Regions from separate parts of the Homo sapiens genome. Here all the other regions are linked to region 6. The links are contacts of gene promoters, found by promoter capture Hi-C in blood cells and fetal thymus (Javierre and others, 2016). All regions are on one chromosome and are shown on one strand. The core of a region is centred on a gene start or on the middle of the fragment in contact, and the rest is flanking DNA. Distances in the headings are between cores, read along the strand shown. Region 1 holds the start of THEMIS2 (thymocyte selection associated family member 2). Region 2 overlaps FAM76A (family with sequence similarity 76 member A). Region 3 has its middle 18 kb from the start of THEMIS2. Region 4 holds the start of PPP1R8 (protein phosphatase 1 regulatory subunit 8). Region 5 holds the start of XKR8 (XK related 8). Region 6 holds the start of DNAJC8 (DnaJ heat shock protein family (Hsp40) member C8). Region 7 overlaps STX12 (syntaxin 12).

Region 1 (2,700 bases), core at 19-2,518, 360 kb after region 6:
ACAGGTGTTGTAACACCAGCAGGCAAAGGGTGCTGGGAGGACGAAGACGCTTGGTCCTGGGCTGGGGGAAGAGCAAACAGATCCCAGGCGCCTTCCTGCAGAAAGCCCCTGGAGGTAGAGTCAGAATTTGAACCCAGATCTGCCAGATTCCCAAGCAGACCTGGAGAGACCCACTGCGAGGTGGTGGCCCCCTGCGGGACCCTTCATGAGGGACCTCCTTGGTCTAGGACCCCACTTGGGACCTCAAACACTCTGCTGGAAGCTGCTGCGACAGAGCGTTTTTCTGCAGCCAGGGAACAGGATGGGGCAGGGCCTTCAAGCCTCAGTTCGCTCTCTAAGGAAGGAACCCGCACCCCCACACAGCATCTCTCTCCTCCACCTCCATCTCCCCTACTCGGTGGCCCACGGGTCCTCCCTGCCCACAGAGCAGCACTGGCCACCCATCCACTGTGCTGTCTTACCCTGCCCTCCACTGTCTGTTATTCCCTCACCGCTTGCTCCTTCAGGCAATGACTAGTGACTGTGCGCCTGCTGTGTGCCCATCCCTGTGAACCAGGCCGCTGCGGGCAGACGGCAGATGTACGGGGGCGTGCAAGGAGCAGAGAGCCAGGAAGGCTTCCGGGAGGAAGCGCCATTTAAGCTGAGAACTGAAGAGCTGATCAAATCAAGTACTGCCCATGGTCAAACAGAAGGCCAAGGTGGACGCAGGGACTGAAGGAAGGCAGTGTAGAGGAGGGCCGGGGGAGGAGTGGGAGGACACAGACGGGAAGACTGACCCTGCACTTCAGAATCAAGACGCAGCCACGACCACCAGCGGCCTAATGCTGCGTCCCGGCGCGGTCGGAGCTCTGTCCCATGCGCACCGCGGGGCCACCTAGGAGTGGCCCGGCTGCATCCACCTCCCGCGCCTCAACCCACTGACTTTTCATCACTACCCTGCGGGGCAGGTCAGCGGTCCCCGTTCCACGAAAGCAAAAGCCGAGGTCCAAAGAGGTTGAGTGCGGCCCCAAATCACACAGCTTGGCCAGTGGCAGTGTCGGGATTTGAACCCAGGGGCAGTTTCCCCGGATTGCTAACGTCTTCTCCGGGTCTCTGCCCCCGCCCCACACCAAGGGAGTGCTCGGAGGGGTTCCAGCCCCCGCTCACCCTCGAAGTAGACCCCCGAGCAGACCCGCAGCACGCGCGGGAGGGAGGCGGGGTCCAAGGCGCGCACGAAGTCCTGCAGCGGCACCGGCTCCATGGTCCCCGCGGCTCTCTGGGCTCAGACTGAGGGGCGGGCGGGCGGTCCCCGGGAGCCCTGCAGCCCCGCCCCGCCGATGCCCCGCCCCGCACGCCGAAGCCGCCCCGCCAGCCCGCGGGAGCCCTGCAGCCCCGCCCCGCCGAAGCCCCGCCCCCCGCCCCCTGCAGTACCCTATGGGGAAGGGGCGATGATGAAGATGAAGAAGTCCCAGACGCCCCCTCAGCAGTGCTCCCAGTTAGAAAAAGGGGACGCGGCCCGACTTGTTCTGCGTCTCATAGGAGGGACATGCCTCTGCCCTTTGGGTTTGAGGAGGGAGATGTAGTGTCAGGGCTCCCGAATGTCCCTCCAGGACACTCCATGGTCCTCTATCGGAAACCTCCTGGTGAAGGGGATCTCATTACCTCTCCAGAACTCCCATACTCTTTCGATAATTATTGTCTACGTTGGCCTCGAACTCCTGGACTCAAGTGATCCTCCCACCTCGGCCTCCCAAAGTGCTGGGATCACAGGTGTGATCCACCTGTGAGCCACCACGCCGGGCCTCACCAATTCTAGTTAAAAATTCTTCCTAAGGCTAAAGAGAAATCTGCTTAGAAGCCGGACCAACCACTTATCCTGACCCCACAGGCTCGGGATAAGCCTTTTCCATTTCCCTGTCCCTCAGGAGTCAGACCAACATAGGTTCAAATCCCAGGTCTCCTCTTGCTCGTTGTATGACGTTAGGCAAATCACTTTGATTGTGTGAACCTCAGTTTCTTACTCTCTAAAACAGGGAGAAGAGGGCCGGGCGCAATGGCTCACGCCTATAATCCCAGCACTTTGGGAGGCCGAGGCGGGTGGATCACCTGAGGTCAGGAGTTTGAGACCAGACTAACATGGTGAAAACCCGTTTCTACTAAAAATACAAAAAAACCTAGCCAGACGTGGTGGCACACACCTCTAATCCCAGCTACTCGGGAGGCTGAGGCAGGAGAATCGCTTGAACCTGGGAGGCAGAGGTTGCAGTGAGCCGAGATTGTACCATTGCACTCCAGCTTGGGCAACAAGAGCAAAACTCCGTCTCAAAAAACAAAAACAAAAACAAAAAAACAGGGAGAAGAGGCTGGGTGTGGCCTGTAATCCCAGCACTTTGGGAGACTGAGGCAGGAGGATCACTTGAGACCAGGAGTCCTAGACCACCCTGGGCAAACTAGCAAGACCCTGTCTCTTAAAAAAAAGAATAAAATAAAATAAGGCCAGGCGCGGTGGCTCACGCCTATAATCCTAGCACTTTGGGAGGGTGAGGCGGGCAGATCTCCTGAAGTCAGGAGTTCAAGACCAGCCTGGCCAATATGGCAAAACCCTGTCTCTACTAAAAATACAAAAAAATTACTGGGCACAATGACTCACGCCTGTAATCCCAGTACTTTGGGAGGCCAAGTTGGACAGATCACCTGAGGTCAGGAGTTCGAGACCAGCCT
Region 2 (2,700 bases), core at 65-2,564, 470 kb after region 6:
TTTCATGGTAAAACAGTGTCATGATTTTTAAAAATCAAAATTTCAAGACTGAGGTTTCTTCTTTCCCTTTTTGGAACTTATGGAAAGTTAGAAAACGTGTGAATTTGCTTTATATTAAATGCCAAGACCTTAAAAAAAGATTTAGTATAAAACTAAGTATGTTTTTATATTGTCATACATCATGTAACAGAATTTCAGTCCTTAAAATTAAAAAAAAACACCATGACTGTCATTTCCCCCTAATTTTTCTCCCATAGTCAATGCAAATGCATCTGAAAAATATTATGACAGTTTATCTTTACCTAAAAGCTTCTCATTCAAAAACTTTACAAAACTATTTAGCACTGCCATTTCCCTTGCTTAGAAGGGAAAATTATATCCCCTAGTAGGGTGATATATAAGCGACATGGTCCACTGTATCCCTTATCAGAAGGAAACCACCATTTCCACATCTCTGTCCAATTATGTGTAGGACTCCATTTATGAGAATGCTATCACAAATTATAGAGCATCTGCTTCCAGGAAACGCCTAGAAGTTAAATTTAGTACTATAATTTTTTGGTAGACTGAGGTACAAATGTTATCTGCCCTCATTATTATTTCTAACTCTAGTACCCCCTGCATAAATGATTCTAGGGTAGTTGGTTTTGTTGTTTCATGGCACACATGACACACCCTAATTCCTTTCACAAACATCACATAGAGGACCTGAGAGTATGCCTAGAAATGTAAATCTATCCCCTTTCCTGGAAAAGTAAATCCATATTCCTACAGGGTTAAGAAGGGAAGATAGGCAGGGCATACATAACTCTGGTTGAGGCAAAGTGCTTCTGAGAAGCACCTGTTTTCAATACATATCCATGAAAAGCAGGGAGTGTATGGGCTCGGGTGGGTGAGGAGTGGGGAGAAGGTATAGTGATACCACTTTTCCCAGACTCAAGAGTCCTTACTAGAGCAGCTCATGCTGACCCCAAAAATGCTCTGTAGTTCAAATATTATTCCTTTTTTTTTTTTTTTTGAGACGGAGTCTCACTCCATTGCCCAGGCTGCAGTGCAGTGTTGCGATTTCAGCTCATTGCAACCTCTGCCTCCCGGGATTCGAGCAGTTCTCCTGCCTCAGCCTCCTGGGTAGCTGGGATTACAGGTGCATGCCACCAGGCCCGGCTAATTTTTGTATTTTTTTAGTACAGATGGGGTTTTACCATGTTGGCCAGGATGGTCTCAAACTCCTAACCTCAAATGATCCACCCGCCTTGGCCTCCCAAATTGCTGGTATTACAGGCGTGAGCCACCGCACCCGACCATATTATTCCATTTTTAATCTGTTCATTCATGTAAAAAAACATTCTCTGACAGCAGCCCAGTATGACAACTGATATAAGCAAATAAAGGATTTTATTTTTTAAAGAAGTGGCAGTGTGAGAATTTAAAATCAATCACATAAAACAATCAGGAAAGGGGTGGGGAGAGAAGTGTCCAGTACAACCTGGACAACCTTGCTTTCTGCCCTTACTTAAAAAGACAGACGGTTCAAATCTTTGCTACCTCCCTTAAGTATCTCCATAAATGCTCTTCCAAGAAATCCTCCAAAAGGCACTTAGCTCCATACTTATGCATTGAATTGTTTCACCTTAGCAATCAGTTTTTAAGACTCCAAGGTAACAAGAAAGAAAAGATCTGATTCTTTTACTAAAAGCTAGTGAATAGGACTGTTTTTTTTTCAAGAGGCATCACTTTTACAAGAACTAGCTAGACCACCATTATTCCTTTATCAAGAAAAAGTTTCTTTTTTAAAAAATAAATAAAACTCTGGCTATACATAGTACAAAGTTCATACATAATACATCTGGAAAAAAACCGAAGAGTATACCCTGAAGCAAAAGGTTTATTGGAGAGAGAAAGCCTCTTCCATTATACCAAGTCTGAAGATGGCAGTTTTCAAAGTTCAGAGGGTGGCAGTGATATATAATTAATGCCAAACTGTTTGCTCATGGGTATGGCAGGATGCAATGAAGGACCAAAAAAAAAAAAAAAAACAAAAAACAAATCATTCTGCACATTACACTGAGCAGTGACCACCACAAAAAAAAAAAAAAAAAAAAAAAGAAAAAAGAAAAAAAAAGAATAGAACCAAAATAGAGAGAAGAGGAAGAAGAAAAAGAAAAGTCCTAATAGTGAGAGAAAGAGAGCGAGCTTGAAATCCCAAACACTCAAGCATGCAGTCTAACACAGCACAAACCAGGTGTTTCCATTCAGCCCACTGCAATCGCACAAAGAAGGATAACTGTAATAAAATAGAGATTTCTTAAGAAAGCTTGCAATTCCCACAGAACAGCCAGGTCTCCAACCCTAACCCTGGACAACTCCATTTGCTGTTGCTAGGGAGCCTCCTTGAGGTCTGTCATGGAGAGGTTATAGCTCCTGACTTCTCTGACTTCTTGCTCTTGGACAAAGCAGCTGCCTGCTTCAGGAGCTCTCGGTTTTTGGCCTAAAGAAAAAAAAAATCAGTGCAAGAAGGATGTTTCAAACAGGATATAAGCTATTTTTCATGCAGAGTAAGTGCAGATGCTAAGGCAGACAATGTGGAGGGTCAGAAAGAGATGAACAATTCTAGAGGTGGAAAACAACAGGAAGCTCTAGGGCTTGAAACTTGGTTCAGGAGAAAAAAGTATTTGCCAGAGGTTAATCAGTGTACCTCAA
Region 3 (2,700 bases), core at 178-2,677, 380 kb after region 6:
TTGCTTGAACCTGGGAGGCGGAGGTTGCAGTGAGTCGAGACCGTGCCACTGTGCTCCAGCCTGGGTGACAGAGCAAGACTCTGTCTCAAAAAAAAAAAAAAAGAAAAAGAAAAAAAATGCATGGCATAACCTTCTCATCAGGAAGGACTTCATCTCAGCTATATCTAACATACTTTAACACACTTCCAGTAAGTTGTTCAGTTTGGACATCTTTTAAAGAACTACAAAACAGGCCAGACTCGGTGGCTCACGCCTGTAATCCCAGCACTCTGGGAGGCCAAGGCAGTTGGATCACCTGAGGGCCGAAGTTCGAGACCAGCCCGGCCAACATGGTGAAACCCCGTCTCCACTAAAAATACAAAAACTAAAGGGTGTGCCACCTATGGACCAAGCATATCCCCACCTTAAACTCTGGATTCAGACTAGAGTTTCAATCCTGTCTTCAGTACAGGGGGCTCATAGGGAAGTTTGTTTAGTCTCAGTCTCAGTTTTCTCATCTATAAAATGGGGATAAAAACAGAATTCCTCTTGGGGCTATGAGAATTAGATGACGTGCTGTAAATGGATACATGGTAGGTAGGTAGGCAGGTGCTTAGTGATTGTTCACCACTACCAACAGTACCATCTTCACTAAAACGAGAGGAAGGTATTGTCCTGATGAGGACACTCATTTTTTTTTTTTTTTTTTTAATTTATTTTTTTATTGATAATTCTTGGGTGTTTCTCACAGAGGGGGATTTGGCAGGGTCATGGGACAATAGTGGAGGGAAGGTCAGCAGATAAACAAGTGAACAAAGGTCTCTGGTTTTCCTAGGCAGAGGACCCTGCGGCCTTCCGCAGTGTTTGTGTCCCTGATTACTTGAGATTAGGGATTGGTGATGACTCTTAACGAGCATGCTGCCTTCAAGCATCTGTTTAACAAAGCACATCTTGCACCGCCCTTAATCCATTTAACCCTGAGTGGACACAGCACATGTTTCAGAGAGCACAGGGTTGGGGGTAAGGTCACAGATCAACAGGATCCCAAGACAGAGGAATTTTTCTTAGTGCAGAACAAAATGAAAAGTCTCCCATGTCTACTTCTTTCTACACAGACACGGCAACCATCCGATTTCTCAATCTTTTCCCCGCCTTTCCCGCCTTTCTATTCCACAAAGCCGCCATTGTCATCCTGGCCCGTTCTCAATGAGCTGTTGGGCACACCTCCCAGACGGGGTGGTGGCTGGGCAGAGGCGCCCCTCACCTCCCGGACGGGGCGGCTGGCCGGGCGGGGGGGGCTGACCACCCCCACCTCCCTCCCGGACGGGGCGGCTGGCCGGGCAGAGGGGCTCCTCACTTCCCAGTAGGGGCGGCCGGGCAGAGGCGCCCCTCACCTCCCGGACGGGGCCACTGGCCGGGCAGGGGGGCTGACCCCCCCCACCTCCCTCCCGGACGGGGCGGCTGGCTGGGTGGGGGGCTGACCCCCCCACCTCCCTCCCGGACGAGGCGGCTGGCCGGGCGTGGGGCTGACACCCCCACCTCCCTCCTGGACAGGGCAGCTGGCCGGGCGGGGGGCTGACCCCCCCACCTCCCTCCCGGATGGGGCGGCTGGCCGGGCGGGGGGCCGACCCCCCCACCTCCCTCCCGGACGGGGCGGCTGGCCGGGCAGAGGGGCTCCTCACTTCCCAGTAGGGGCGGCCGGGCAGAGGCGCCCCTCAACTCCCAGACGGGGCGGCTGGCCGGGCGGAGGGCTGACCCCCCCACCTCCCTCCCGGACAGGGCGGCTGGCCGGGCGGGGGGGCTGACCCCCCCACCTCCCTCCCGGACGAGGCGGCTGGCCGGGCGTGGGGCTGACCCCCCCACCTCCCTCCCGGACGAGGCGGCTGGCCGGGCGGGGGGGCTGACCCCCCCACCTCCCTCCCGGACGAGGCGGCTGGCCGGGCGTGGGGCTGACCCCCCCACCTCCCTCCCGGACAGGGCGGCTGGCCGGGCGGGGGGGCTGACCCCCCCACCTCCCTCCCGGACGAGGCGGCTGGCCGGGCGTGGGGCTGACCCCCCCACCTCCCTCCCGGACGAGGCGGCTGGCCGGGCGTGGGGCTGACACCCCCACCTCCCTCCTGGACAGGGCAGCTGGCCGGGCGGGGGGCTGACCCCCCCACCTCCCTCCCGGATGGGGCGGCTGGCCGGGCGGGGGGCCGACCCCCCCACCTCCCTCCCGGACGGGGCGGCTGGCCGGGCAGAGGGGCTCCTCACTTCCCAGTAGGGGCGGCCGGGCAGAGGCGCCCCTCAACTCCCAGACGGGGCGGCTGGCCGGGCGGAGGGCTGACCCCCCCACCTCCCTCCCGGACAGGGCGGCTGGCCGGGCGGGGGGGCTGACCCCCCCACCTCCCTCCCGGATGGGGCGGCTGGCCGGGCAGAGGGGCTCCTCACTTCCCAGTAGGGGCGGCCGGGCAGAGGCACCCCTCACCTCCCAGACGGGGCGGCTGGCCGGGCGGGGCGCTGACCCCCCCACCTCCCTCCTGGACGGGGCGGCTGGCCAGGCGGGGGGCTGACCCCCCCACCTCCCTCCCGGACGGGGCGGCTGGCCGGGTGGGGGGGCTGACCCCCCCATCTCCCTCCCGGACGGGGTGGCTGGCCGGGCTGAGGGGCTCCTCACTTCCCAGTAGGGGCGGCCGGGCAGAGGCGCCCCTCACCTCCCGGACGGGGCGGCTGGCCGGGCGG
Region 4 (2,700 bases), core at 77-2,576, 400 kb after region 6:
TACCTACCAGATCCTAAGGAAAGGGTAGGTGATCTCAAAAACAGTGCTTTCTAACTATGTTTGCTATCTCGGCCCAAATTTGAAATCAATACAGCGAGGGATCAAAATGGATACAGAATTTGTAGACTGAAGCAACTACTACAAAAGTGCAAAGCGATCCAGAAAATAGCCACACATTTGCTTGCTTTTTGGGTTTGCTAATTTGAAGTTAGAAAAAAGAACCACCTCACTAGAACCTTTAGATTTGCACATGAAAAAACGTATCCTTGTCTAGCTAACTGAAGATTCAACACAGTCATCTCACAATCCTGCCCCAACCCCTCCTCTATGGAAAGGACAATGCACCGGACAAAAGGCCATTTTGTCCAGGAAAAAGGAGGAATGTTACATCCAAAACATACTTTCTGAATTCCTACTATGTGCCTGACTCAGGCCTAGGAGCTGGGAATACAAAGATGCAGTCTTTGCCCTTGAGGATGGCAATACAACGGGAGACAGAGACAAGCAACAAACAATACACTGCGATGAGCTACAGCAGAAAAAAACTCTTAATTCAGAAGCGTTTCCTTGTAAGGTAATTCATATTTATTCAACTTGTACCCTACTCAAAGACCAAATTAAATTATTTCATTATTCCCAAGAACTTTCGAAGGGATAAAAAGGGTTCATGCCAACCATTACTAATGCCTACTAGTGCCACAGACTGGGAGCTCCCTGAGGGCAGGGATGGCGCTAACCTACCCTCGTATTCTCTGTGGCAGACAGACAAGTGCCGCACGAGGGATGCAGCAACCACAGAGGGATGCGGGGCTTGGAGGTAGGGTTGGGGCCGGGGCTGGCTCGAGCGCGCTCGGGACGTACAGGAAGGGGCCAGATGCGATGCTCCACGAGAGCACCAGGCACTCAGTCAAGAGTTGGGCGTAAGTTCGGGCCAAGGCCTCGAAGCGCTCCGGCGACTGGCTAATCGCTCAAAGGGGCTGCCTAAGTGAGCGCCTTTGAGCCCCCAACCCCGGGTTTCTTCAGTTCCTGGGCCTGGGCTCCAGGCTCTCGGTTCTTCAACACGTCGCCCGGCCCGGTGCAGCAAACAGTTTTTCCTCAACCATTCCGGGGTTTCTGAGCCGTTCGGCTCGCAGCAGAAAAGTAAAAAAAGAGCCGCCCTTCCAGCCCAGGCTAGCTCCGGCCGGGCCACTCTAGCCCTGGCCGCCCCGCCACTCACCAGGTTGGGCAGTCGAACAGCGGGAGGCTAGAGCCGGAGTTCGCGGCTGCCGCCATCTTGCGTCTCCCCCTCCCATTTGGCGCGCCCTAAGCACGCCGGGAAACTGGAAGACCGAGAAGGGAAAAGCGGCATCCCAGCAGCCTGTGCGTACGCACGCTCACGCACGCCCGTACGGGGGGCGGTGCTTCTAGTGGGGACAGAGGAGCTTTTGGGATTTTTTTTTTTTCAGCGTTTGTGCGAGTTGGCCGTCTCTGGAAGTCTCCAGTGGTTAGGGTTTTCCTTGGCCAGGAGGTGTCAAAGGAAAAGGGGCTTTGTAGGGAGGGGAGTCAGTCTTTCCCTACGTCCTCCTGCAAACGCTTCTTGGCTCTAAAATCTTGGGACTAAGCCGTGCGCGATGGCTCACGTCTGTAATCCCAGCACTTTCGGAGGCTGAGGCGGGCGGATCACTTGAGGTCGGGAGTTTGAGACCAGCCTGACCAACATGGTGAAACCCCGTCTCTACTAAAAATACAAAAATTAGTCGAGTGTAGTGGCACATGCCTGTAATCCCAGCTACTTGGGAGGCTAAGGCAGGAGAATCGCTTGCACTCGGGAGGCAGAGGTTGCAGTGAGCCGAGATCGCGCCATTGCACTCCAGCCTGGGCAACAGAGCGAGACTCCGTCTCAAAAAAAAAAAAAAAAAAAGTAAAGAAAGAAAAAATCTGGGGACTACATCCTCCTCCAGAGTTTAGGTTAAGACCGTCAGCCTTTTGCCCTCAAAGCGGAGAAGCTAAAGGGCAAAACTCGGAGATTGGAGTGATTATTGTTTCTCTTCAGCCCTTCTCCAAAAAGTGGCACCCTACTCACTTTTTTCTAATTCACGTTTAGGCCTGTAGATTGTCAGGGAATCTGCATTAGGGGTCACCTAGTCTGTTTATGAAAACTCTGGACAAGCAGGAGCCAGGAGCAGGTCCAGTCAGAAAGCAGGGGTCCAAATCATCACTGTGCTTGGCTCAAATGGTTAATTTTTTTAAAAAGGATTTTTTGCTTTTGGTTATAGGGCAAGGAAGCATAAGGATTGCTCGCTTGCCCTAGATCACCAGCTGGTTTTAAGAGACCATTAGCAGGGCCTCTGGTTTTTTATTTTTTATTTTTTTATTGATCATTCTTGGGTGTTTCTCGCAGAGGGGGATTTGGCAGGGTCATAGGACAATAGTGGAGGGAAGGTCAGCAGATAAACAAGTGAACAAAGGTCTCTGGTTTTCCTAGGCAGAGGACCCTGTGGCCTTCCGCAGTGTTTGTGTCCCTGGGTACTTGAGATTAGGGAGTGGTGATGACTCTTAATGAGCATGCTGCCTTCAAGCATCTGTTTAACAAAGCACATCTTGCACTGCCCTTTATCCATTTAACCCTGAGTGGAGAGAGCACAGGGTTGGGGGTAAGGTCATAGATCAACAGGATCCCAAGGCAGAAGAATTTTTCTTAGTACAGAACAAAATGAAAAG
Region 5 (2,700 bases), core at 82-2,581, 270 kb after region 6:
TCTGAGCCTTGGGTTTGTTTTCCCATCTCTACGAGGCTCCACCAGGTCCAAAAAGGAGCAGAATCCACACACATTTTCCAGGACCCAGCCTATGCCCAGCCCTGGCTGGCTCCATGGGCATGGATGAGTCAGAGGCCATCTCTGCCCTCTTGCTGGGTCTGGGGTGGGAAGCCAAGTTTCAGGGGGAAGAATACAACCAGGCAGACAGGGTGAGAGGCGGCCTTTGTGAGGGGCAAGCGCTGTGGTGGGGTCAGGGCTGCTGAAACTCCCAGGGAGGCCCAGGTCAAGAAGCCAGCTGAGGTTGCTGAGTGCTCACTCTGAGCCAGGGCAGTGGACAGATGTCATTTCACTGCATCTTCACCAAACGGGCAGGCGCTATCCCCATCCCAATGGGAACAGCAACCAAACAGCCCCACTGAGAGGTCAGTGACTTCCCAAGGCCCTGCCCATGCTGAAACATGGGATGCTGAACTGAGTCCGCAGCCCCTGCCATTACAGGCCAGGCACTGTGCGAGGCACTTTCTCATTCTTTCGCTCACTCTTCACAACAGGCCTGCCCGTCACACCTGTCTCAGGGTGACTACCTCCTTTCTACGCAGGAGGAAACTGAGGCTCAGAGAAATGCAGAAGTGAGGCGAGAGGGGGCAAAGCCAGAAGTGGATCCCTGAGAGGTCCGACTTCAAAGCCCATGCGCCTCCCTTTCTTCCCTGGGCCTCAGTTTCTTCGCCTGTGCCAGGAAAGCTAGGGCTAGAATGAAGGCAGTCTACCGGGATTCCCTTTCCGTAAAGGGCTGCACGCTCACCTGTAGGCCAGGCGCCCACAGGACTTGGTTCCCTCTCCCAGTCCCCTTCCCGGCATATGGCGTGTCACCTGTACAGGTGACCCAGCTGACGGAGGTGCTGGGCTCCGACACTCCTCCCCTCCCGGGGCGAAGCACTCACCTGTACAGGTAACCCAGCTGCAGGAGATGCAGCAGCGCCAGGCAGCGGCGCGGGGGCTGCGACCCGTGCAGGCCGGCAGGGTCAGCGCGCAGCCAGAGCCAGCTGAAGAGCTGCAGCGCCACGGAGGCCAGGCCCAGCAGCGCCAGCACCAGCGCCGCCCACAGGTAGCGGCCGCCGAGCGCATACTGGACGGCGGCCCACAGGTCGGTGCCCAGGTCGAGCAGGAAGGCGGCGGTGCCCAGCACGCCCAGGACCAGGTCCCGAAGGAGGGCGCCGCGGGACGACCAGGGCATGGCCCGCCGGCCTCCGCCCTCTCCTGCTCCTCCGCGGTTGGGGCCTGCCCTCAGGGCCCGGGGTTGCCGAGGCAGGAAGGAGGTGGGCGCAGCCCTCGGGGCGGCCCGGGGCCTGGGCCTGGTGGGCGGGACTTCCCCGTCCCGCCCCGTCCGGGGAGGAGCGAGGCCCGCGGTTGTCCCAGGTCCTCCGCCCGAACCCCAGCTAAAAGCCGCTCGATGCTCTGCTCCCGCCGCCAGCCCAGGGGTCCACCGACCCAGCCCAGCCAAGCCCGCTAGGCCTGAAGACCGACTGCCCTTCGCTTCGCAGGCTTCAAATGGCCTAGTTTTACCTTTGAGGCGCCCGGAGGCCCAAGAAAGCGAGAGGGCGGGGAGACTAGAGCCTGGACCAGGGCTGCGATCCCTCACACCTGTATTGTTGCAAAACAAAACGAAACGCAAAGGCACATTCTAATCCCTAAGTGCGAGACTTTGCAACAACGCGTGCGCCTCGATCCAGGGATACCCGGAGAGCACGGGGCCGCTGGGTTCACGCCAGCGATCCGAGTCGGGGGAGGGCGGGCGTTAGGTTCCTGCAAATGAGTTAACCTCATTTCCATACGGAAGGGAATAGAGGCCGGGCGCGGTGACTCACGCCTGTAATCCCAACACTTTGGGAGGCCCAGGCGGGCGGATCACCTGAGGTCAGGAGTTCGAGACCAGCCTGGCAAACATGGCGAAACCCCGTCTCTACTAAAAATACAAATTAGTCGGGCGTGTTGGCGCGCGCCTGTAGTCCCAGCTAGGAGGCTGAGGCAGGAGAATCGCTTGAACCCGGGAGGCAGAGGTTGCAGAGAGCCGAGATAGCGCCACTGCACTCCGGCCTGGGCGACAGAGCGAGACTCCGTCTCAAAAGAAAAGAAAAGGAACACAACACAGAATCAAACGCATGATGAGCTTTGTTTTGTGAGTTAAACATAATACGCAAAAGAAGTATGCTTGTAGGGGGGTCTTGGGTCGTCATTTCTTTTCTGTTTCTGGTTTGTTTTTGGAGAGAGTCTGGCTTTGTCACCCAGGCTGGAGTGCAGTGGCGCGATCACGGATGGCTGCAGCTCCTGGGGCTTCGCTTCCTGATTCGGTTGTCCTATTTCAGTTCACTCCTCAGGCGCGGAGGAAATGGTGGAAGGCCCAGCTCTGGGTGATCCTGGGCGCTGCCCCCGTTACCCGTTACCAGGAAGAAGGTGAGCCTGGCAGGTCACAGCACGAGCGTGCACAGGCCCAGCAGGGCCATCAGCAGCAGCGGGAGCTGGGGCACGGGCGTGGTGCCAGAGGCATACAGACAGGTGGTGTAAGCGTCAATGTCCACCTGGCGCATGGCACACACGTGCTGCATGCTGCAGGCCTCGTCGCAGACCCCAGCAGAGTAGCTGACTGAGTTATAGACGTAGTAGCGCTGCAGTGTGCTCTGGTCGCCAGCGATGCGGTCCAGC
Region 6 (2,700 bases), core at 176-2,675:
TATAAAAATACCTTCTTTGGGGCTGGGCGTGGTGTCTCACACCTGTAATCCCAGCACTTCGGGAGGCCGAGGCGCATGGATCATGAGGTCAGGAGTTCGAGATCAGCCTGACTAACTCCGTCTCTACTAAAAATACAAAAATCAGCCGGGCGTGGTGACATGCGCCTGTAATCTCAGCTACTCAGGAGGTTGAGGCAGGAGAATTGCTTGAACCTGGGAGGCGGCGGTTGCAGTGAGCCAAGATCATGCCACTGCACTCCAGCCTGGGCAACAGAGCAAGCCTCTGCCTCAAAAAAACAAAACAAAACAAAACCTTCTTTGTTTTCTATGAAATAGTAAAACTGGCTTTATTGATTATATTTTAGTTGAGAAAATAGCAGCCCTACCTGGTATTTTGTTTAATTCCATTTATGTGAAATACGTATTCACATATTGTTTAACTCCATTTATGTGAAATATCCAGAATAGGTAAATCCATATAGATAGAACACAGATTGCTTGTTTTCAGGGACTGGGGAGAGGGGGCGAATAGGGAGTAACTGCTTAATAGGTACTAGGTCTCCTCGGCCAGGCGCGGTGGCTCACGCCTGTAATCCCCGCACTTTGGGAGGCCAAGGCGAGCGGATTACGACGTCAGGAGATCGTAGACCATCCTGGCCAACATGGTGAACATCCGGCTTTACTAAAAATATAAAAATTAGCGGGGCATGGTGGCGTTTGTCTGTAATCTCAGCTACTCGGGAGGCTAAGGCAGAATTTCTGGAACCGGGGAGGCGCCACTGCACTCCAGCCTGGGTGACAGAGTGAGACTCCGTCTAAAAAAAAAAAGTAGATACTAAGTCTCCTTTTGAGGTGATGAAACTATTTTGGAACCAGGTAGACATGGTGGTTGCAGAACATTGTGAATGTTCTGAAGACAGCTGAGCCGGTCCGGCGCGGTGGCTCATGCCTGTAATTCCTGTACTTTGGGAGGCCTGGGCAACATGGCAAGACCCCGTCTCCACAAAAGTACATAAAATTAGCCGGGCATGGTGGCGCGCGCCTGCAGTCCCAGCTACTCGGGAGGCTGAAGTGAGAGGATCGCTTGAGCTTGGGAGGTCGAGGCTGCAGTGAGCTGTGATTGCACCACTCGACTCCAGCCTGGACGACAGAGATCCTGTCTCAAAAATAAATAAATAAATAAACCCACTGAATTATTCACTTTTTCTTTTATTCTTCTTATTATTTTTTACCTAACAATAACTTAAGCACATTATTTACTTTAAAGTGGTTAATTATATGTTATGTGTAATTCGTTTAAATTTTAAAAAGCCCACCTACTTTTAAAGTGCCTGGCTGGGCTGCGAGCCCTTTAAGAACCTCTCAGACGGGAGGCGGGGCTAGAGGAGCGGACCTGTAAGAATCACGTGAGGCGACGCCTGCGCAGAAGGGTCACGTGGTGGCTGGGCCGGGGAAATGGCGGCTTCAGGAGAGAGCGGGACTTCAGGCGGCGGAGGCAGCACCGAGGAAGCATTTATGACCTTCTACAGTGAGGTGAACACAGAGTGAGGAGTAGTGGCACCGGGGCGACCGCTCCCGGATCTGCTTTCCCAGTGGACAAAGGCAGTGGCCGCCTGGCCTGGACCGTTGGGCGATTCCTTCAGTCCAGTCTTCGGGGTGGCGGGGGTCTGGGGGTGTGTGAGCGTCTCCCACTGATAGCTGCTGGGAGATCCCCCGGGGCAACGAAAGAGGGAATGGTGTTCGATCTATCGAGGGAGGTGGCGAGTGTGTCCAACATAGTGCGGGCGCGCGGGCAGAGTGCCCCAAGTCCGCGGAGTCGGGGGCTGGCAGAGGCTGGGCCCTTCCTGGGAGTGACTTAGCCTTCTTGGCCCCCGAGACGTTTCTTAGTCCTTTGTAATGAGTTGTTTTAGTGGTTGTTTCTGCCATTCACGAACGCCAGGCACTGTGTATCATGCCAGTTAGGCATTATATTACCCCCATTTTACAGATGACGAACCTGAGCTTTAGGGAGGTGAAATAGTTTGGGGCCTTACAGTAGGTTACAGCTTGCTTGGTGGTATGTTAGGACAGCAGTGGGCTTGTTCTGAGCCTCCTTTACTATCGCATCTCCAGCGCATAGTATGTAGTGGATGCTCAGTAAATATTTGTTGAGTGAATGAATGAATAAATGAAATAAAAGCATGCCGTTTGGAGTCAGAATCTCAGATTAAATTATTGCAAGGGGCTGGGCACAGTGGCTCACATCTGTAATCCCAGCACTTTGGGAGGCCCAGGCGGGAGGAACCCAAAAGCTCGAGGCTGCAGTGACCTATGATCGGACCACTGCACTCCATTTTTGGCGAGAGTGAGACCCTGTCTCTTTAAAAAGAAGGAAAAAAAGGATAGAAAAAAAAATTCTTGGTTGGGCGCGGTGGCTCACGCCTGTAATCCCAGCACTTTGGGAGGCCGAGACGGGCGGATCACGAGGTCAGGAGATCGAGACCACGGTGAAACCCCGTCTCTACTAGAAATACAAAAAATTAGCTGGGCCTGGTAGTGGGCGCCTGTAGTCCCAGCCACTCGGGAGGCTGAGGCAGGAGAATGGCGTGAACCCGGGAGGCAGAGCTTGCAGTGAGCAGAGATCGCGCCACTGCACTCCAGCTTGGGTGACAGAGCGAGAGACTGTCTAAAAAAGAAAAAAATTCTTGGAAGACAGTTAAC
Region 7 (2,700 bases), core at 159-2,658, 430 kb after region 6:
ATCATTATTATTAAAAAATCAGTCTAATGGATGTATTACTTTTATAATTTAAAAACAGGCTGGGTGCGGTGGCTCATGCCTGTAATCCCAATCCCAGCACTTTGAGAGGCCGAGGTGGGCAGATCACTTTGAGGTCAGGAGTTTGTGACCAGCCTGGCCAACATGGTGAAACCCCGTCTCTACTAAAATACAAAAATTAGCCAGGCATGGTGGTGGGTGCCTGTAATCCCAGCTACTCGAGAGGCTAAGGCAGGAGAATTGCTTGAACCTAGAAGGCAGAGGTTGCAGTGAGCCAAGATCGTGCCACTGCACTACAGCCTGAGTGACAGAGTGAGACTCCCTCTCAGAATAAATAAATAAATAAATAAATAAATAAATAAATAAATAAATAAAAAACAAAGCAAAAATGGTAAAAATCAATGTATTTTCATTTTTAAAAAGCTTACCCTTTTTATAATAGCAATACAGGACAAGCAAAATGAAAAGAATTTCAAATTTCTATCCACTCAGAGGAACACTGTGGGTTTTTGGTTTGTTTTTTTCTTTTTACTTTATCTTTTTCCCCAGATCAAGAAATAACATTGCCAGAGTCCTAAAAGCCTACTCATGTGCCCTTCTCCAATCACAACTCCATCCCTCCCTTTTAAAGTATCTATTATCTTGACTTTGTGAAAATCATTTTCTTGCATTTTAAGAATAGTGAGCTATATTCTTATTCAATATCATTTTGCCTGTTTTTGAACTTTACATAAATGGAATTATACTGTTTATATTCTTTAGTGCTTTTTTTGAATCATTCCAGATTATGCCAGATCCATCTCTGATACTGAATGTAACTGTGGTTCAATCATTTTCTTTGCTGTATGATATTATAGTATATGAACATAACACAATTTATCCATTCTACAGTTGACAGACATCTGGATGTTTCCAATTTTTGACTACTACAAACAATGCTGCTATGCACATTCTTGTACATACATCCTGGTATAACACATACAGGTTTCTCTAGGGTAGAATTGCTGGATCACAAGGTCTGCATGTGTTCTGAAGATACAGCCAAAATGTTTTCCAAAGTAGTTGTTCTAACTTATACCACCGGCCAGATAAAAAAGTTCCTGTTGCATCATATCCATAATGACAACTCCCAGTGTTCACAGAATTTTAAACTTCTGCCCTCCTGGTGGGCATGAAATAGTATTTCATTGTTATTTTAATCTGTAATTTCACCATTACTAAAGAAGCTGAGTACCTTTTCATTTGTTTGACCATTACTCAAAATAATACTAACGTGTTTATTTGCTCCATGAGTGTAAATATCAACAGGACGGAGCAAAAGCAATGGTGGGGGACTGGTGGCGGGGAAGTGGGGATGGTTAATGGGCACAAAAAATAGGAAGAATGAATAGGACCTAGTATTTGATAGCACAAATGGGTGACTATCGTCAATAATAATTTAATTATATATTCAAAAATAACTAAAAGAGTATAATTGAATTGTCTGTAACATAAAGGATAAATGCTTGAGGGGATAGACACCCCATTTACCATGGTGTAATTATTACACATTACATGACTATATGAAAGTATCTCATGTACCTCATAAATATATACACCTACCATGTGCCCACAAAAATTAAAAATTAAAAAAAGGCAATGGTAGTGATATGGTTTGGCTCTATGTCCCCACTCAAATCTCGTCTCGAATTGTAATCCCAACGTGCGAAGGGAGGGACCTGGTGGGAAGTGATTGGATCATGGGGGTGTTAGTGTTCACGTGTTAGTGAGGGAGTTCTCATGAGATCCGGTTGTTTGGTAAGTGTCTGGTATTTCCCCTGCACTCTCTTTCTCTTTCTCCTGCCACCATGTAAGACATGCCTTGCCTCCCCTTAGCTTTCTACCATGGTTGTAAGTTTCCTGAGGCCTATCCAGCCACGCAGAACTGTGAGTCAATTAAACCTCTTTTATTTATAAAGTATCCAGTCTCAGGTAGTATCTTTATAGCAGTGTGAAAATGGACTAATACAGATAGATAAAATGGCTGAAGGCAGTGGCACCGAATTGCACTAGTATTATTGTATTCTTCATCACCACACACTCACCGTATTTTAAAAGCCAATGTATTCTTGAAGCCATACAAATTATTAATTAAACCTTGACCCCTCAATACATATCTTTCTACTATTCTGTATTGTGAAATGGGAAGTGCACATAAAGTACTTCTGCTGCATAAAGAAATACAATGTCTGTCTCTAGGAAAAGCACTTGTGTAATGGAACTGCAGGCTGAACTAGCCACTTTTTTTAGGGAATACCATTTTTACTTATTCAATATAGTTTTATAAGAACTTACTAAAAACTTATTTAAAAGCTTTAAAACTTTCATAAACGTATACATATAAACTTTTCAGATGGGTATTTGGCAGACAACTTGTTGAAAAGAAGTATGAGCCTGTCACTTCAAGGAAAACAACAGAGGGTGTTTGTTGCCAATGACAAAAATGTAGCTTTCAAGTAAAAATAAAAATAAAATTTCGGAAGACTTGTATCTACCATTGTAAGAGTTTCCCAATATTTAAATACTTTTCTGGTGAAACTGATGGAAATATGTATTTTTTTATATTGTAAAATGAAATGTATCGACATTTGGAAGAGCTGCATAACTCAGGGAACCAATACTATCCAAATGATAAATACATGA

What was found. Contacts are between HindIII fragments. The CHiCAGO score rates a contact against its expected background, and 5 or more counts as called.
Region 1: a contact is called between the fragment with the promoter of THEMIS2 here and the fragment with the promoter of DNAJC8 in region 6, in 3 of 17 cell types (neutrophils, megakaryocytes and endothelial precursors). The highest score is 7.3, in neutrophils.
Region 2: a fragment that was not itself captured here is called in contact with the fragment with the promoter of DNAJC8 in region 6 in 1 of 17 cell types (M2 macrophages); the score reaches 7.6 in M2 macrophages.
Region 3: a fragment that was not itself captured here is called in contact with the fragment with the promoter of DNAJC8 in region 6 in 6 of 17 cell types (M0 macrophages, naive CD4 T cells, M2 macrophages and 3 more); the score reaches 8.5 in M0 macrophages.
Region 4: a contact is called between the fragment with the promoter of PPP1R8 here and the fragment with the promoter of DNAJC8 in region 6, in 2 of 17 cell types (M2 macrophages and M0 macrophages). The highest score is 9.5, in M2 macrophages.
Region 5: the fragment with the promoter of XKR8 here is called in contact with the fragment with the promoter of DNAJC8 in region 6 in 2 of 17 cell types (neutrophils and endothelial precursors); the score reaches 9.4 in neutrophils.
Region 7: a fragment that was not itself captured here is called in contact with the fragment with the promoter of DNAJC8 in region 6 in 3 of 17 cell types (M0 macrophages, M2 macrophages and M1 macrophages); the score reaches 7.1 in M0 macrophages.

What each region holds. Positions count from the first base shown.
Region 1 is chr1:27,871,112-27,873,811 of GRCh38, reverse strand. THEMIS2 (thymocyte selection associated family member 2) reads right to left here and starts at 1,268. Exons shown (of 6, transcript NM_001105556.3): 1 at 1,147-1,268. The coding sequence starts at 1,240. RefSeq lists a silencer at 1,151-1,420. The HindIII fragment of the contact is 18,992 bases long and covers 1-2,700 here.
Region 2 is chr1:27,760,283-27,762,982 of GRCh38, reverse strand. FAM76A (family with sequence similarity 76 member A) reads right to left here. Exons shown (of 9, transcript NM_152660.3): 9 at 1-2,488. The coding sequence ends at 2,402. Among named protein-coding and RNA genes, the nearest start is that of STX12, 12 kb to the left of the region's middle. The HindIII fragment of the contact is 2,005 bases long and covers 312-2,316 here.
Region 3 is chr1:27,853,083-27,855,782 of GRCh38, reverse strand. No RefSeq gene overlaps it. Among named protein-coding and RNA genes, the nearest start is that of THEMIS2, 18 kb to the left of the region's middle. The HindIII fragment of the contact is 5,873 bases long and covers 1-2,700 here.
Region 4 is chr1:27,829,408-27,832,107 of GRCh38, reverse strand. PPP1R8 (protein phosphatase 1 regulatory subunit 8) reads right to left here and starts at 1,326. Exons shown (of 7, transcript NM_014110.5): 1 at 1,217-1,326. The coding sequence starts at 1,272. LOC124903885 (a long non-coding RNA gene) reads left to right here and starts at 325. Exons shown (of 2, transcript XR_007065562.1): 1 at 325-1,359. RefSeq lists enhancers at 277-1,061, 1,019-1,188, 1,062-1,847 and a silencer at 1,319-1,398. The HindIII fragment of the contact is 9,216 bases long and covers 1-2,700 here.
Region 5 is chr1:27,958,604-27,961,303 of GRCh38, reverse strand. XKR8 (XK related 8) reads right to left here and starts at 1,331. Exons shown (of 3, transcript NM_018053.4): 1 at 942-1,331. The coding sequence starts at 1,234. SMPDL3B (sphingomyelin phosphodiesterase acid like 3B) reads right to left here. Exons shown (of 8, transcript NM_014474.4): 8 at 2,152-2,700. The coding sequence ends at 2,466. RefSeq lists an enhancer at 827-1,390 and a silencer at 1,071-1,460. The HindIII fragment of the contact is 19,385 bases long and covers 1-2,700 here.
Region 6 is chr1:28,231,754-28,234,453 of GRCh38, reverse strand. DNAJC8 (DnaJ heat shock protein family (Hsp40) member C8) reads left to right here and starts at 1,425. Exons shown (of 9, transcript NM_014280.3): 1 at 1,425-1,533. The coding sequence starts at 1,456. RefSeq lists an enhancer at 1,202-1,735. The HindIII fragment of the contact is 12,029 bases long and covers 1-2,700 here.
Region 7 is chr1:27,806,005-27,808,704 of GRCh38, reverse strand. The region is part of intron 4 of STX12 (syntaxin 12); the gene reads right to left. Among named protein-coding and RNA genes, the nearest start is that of PPP1R8, 23 kb to the left of the region's middle. RefSeq lists an enhancer at 991-1,514. The HindIII fragment of the contact is 1,929 bases long and covers 444-2,372 here.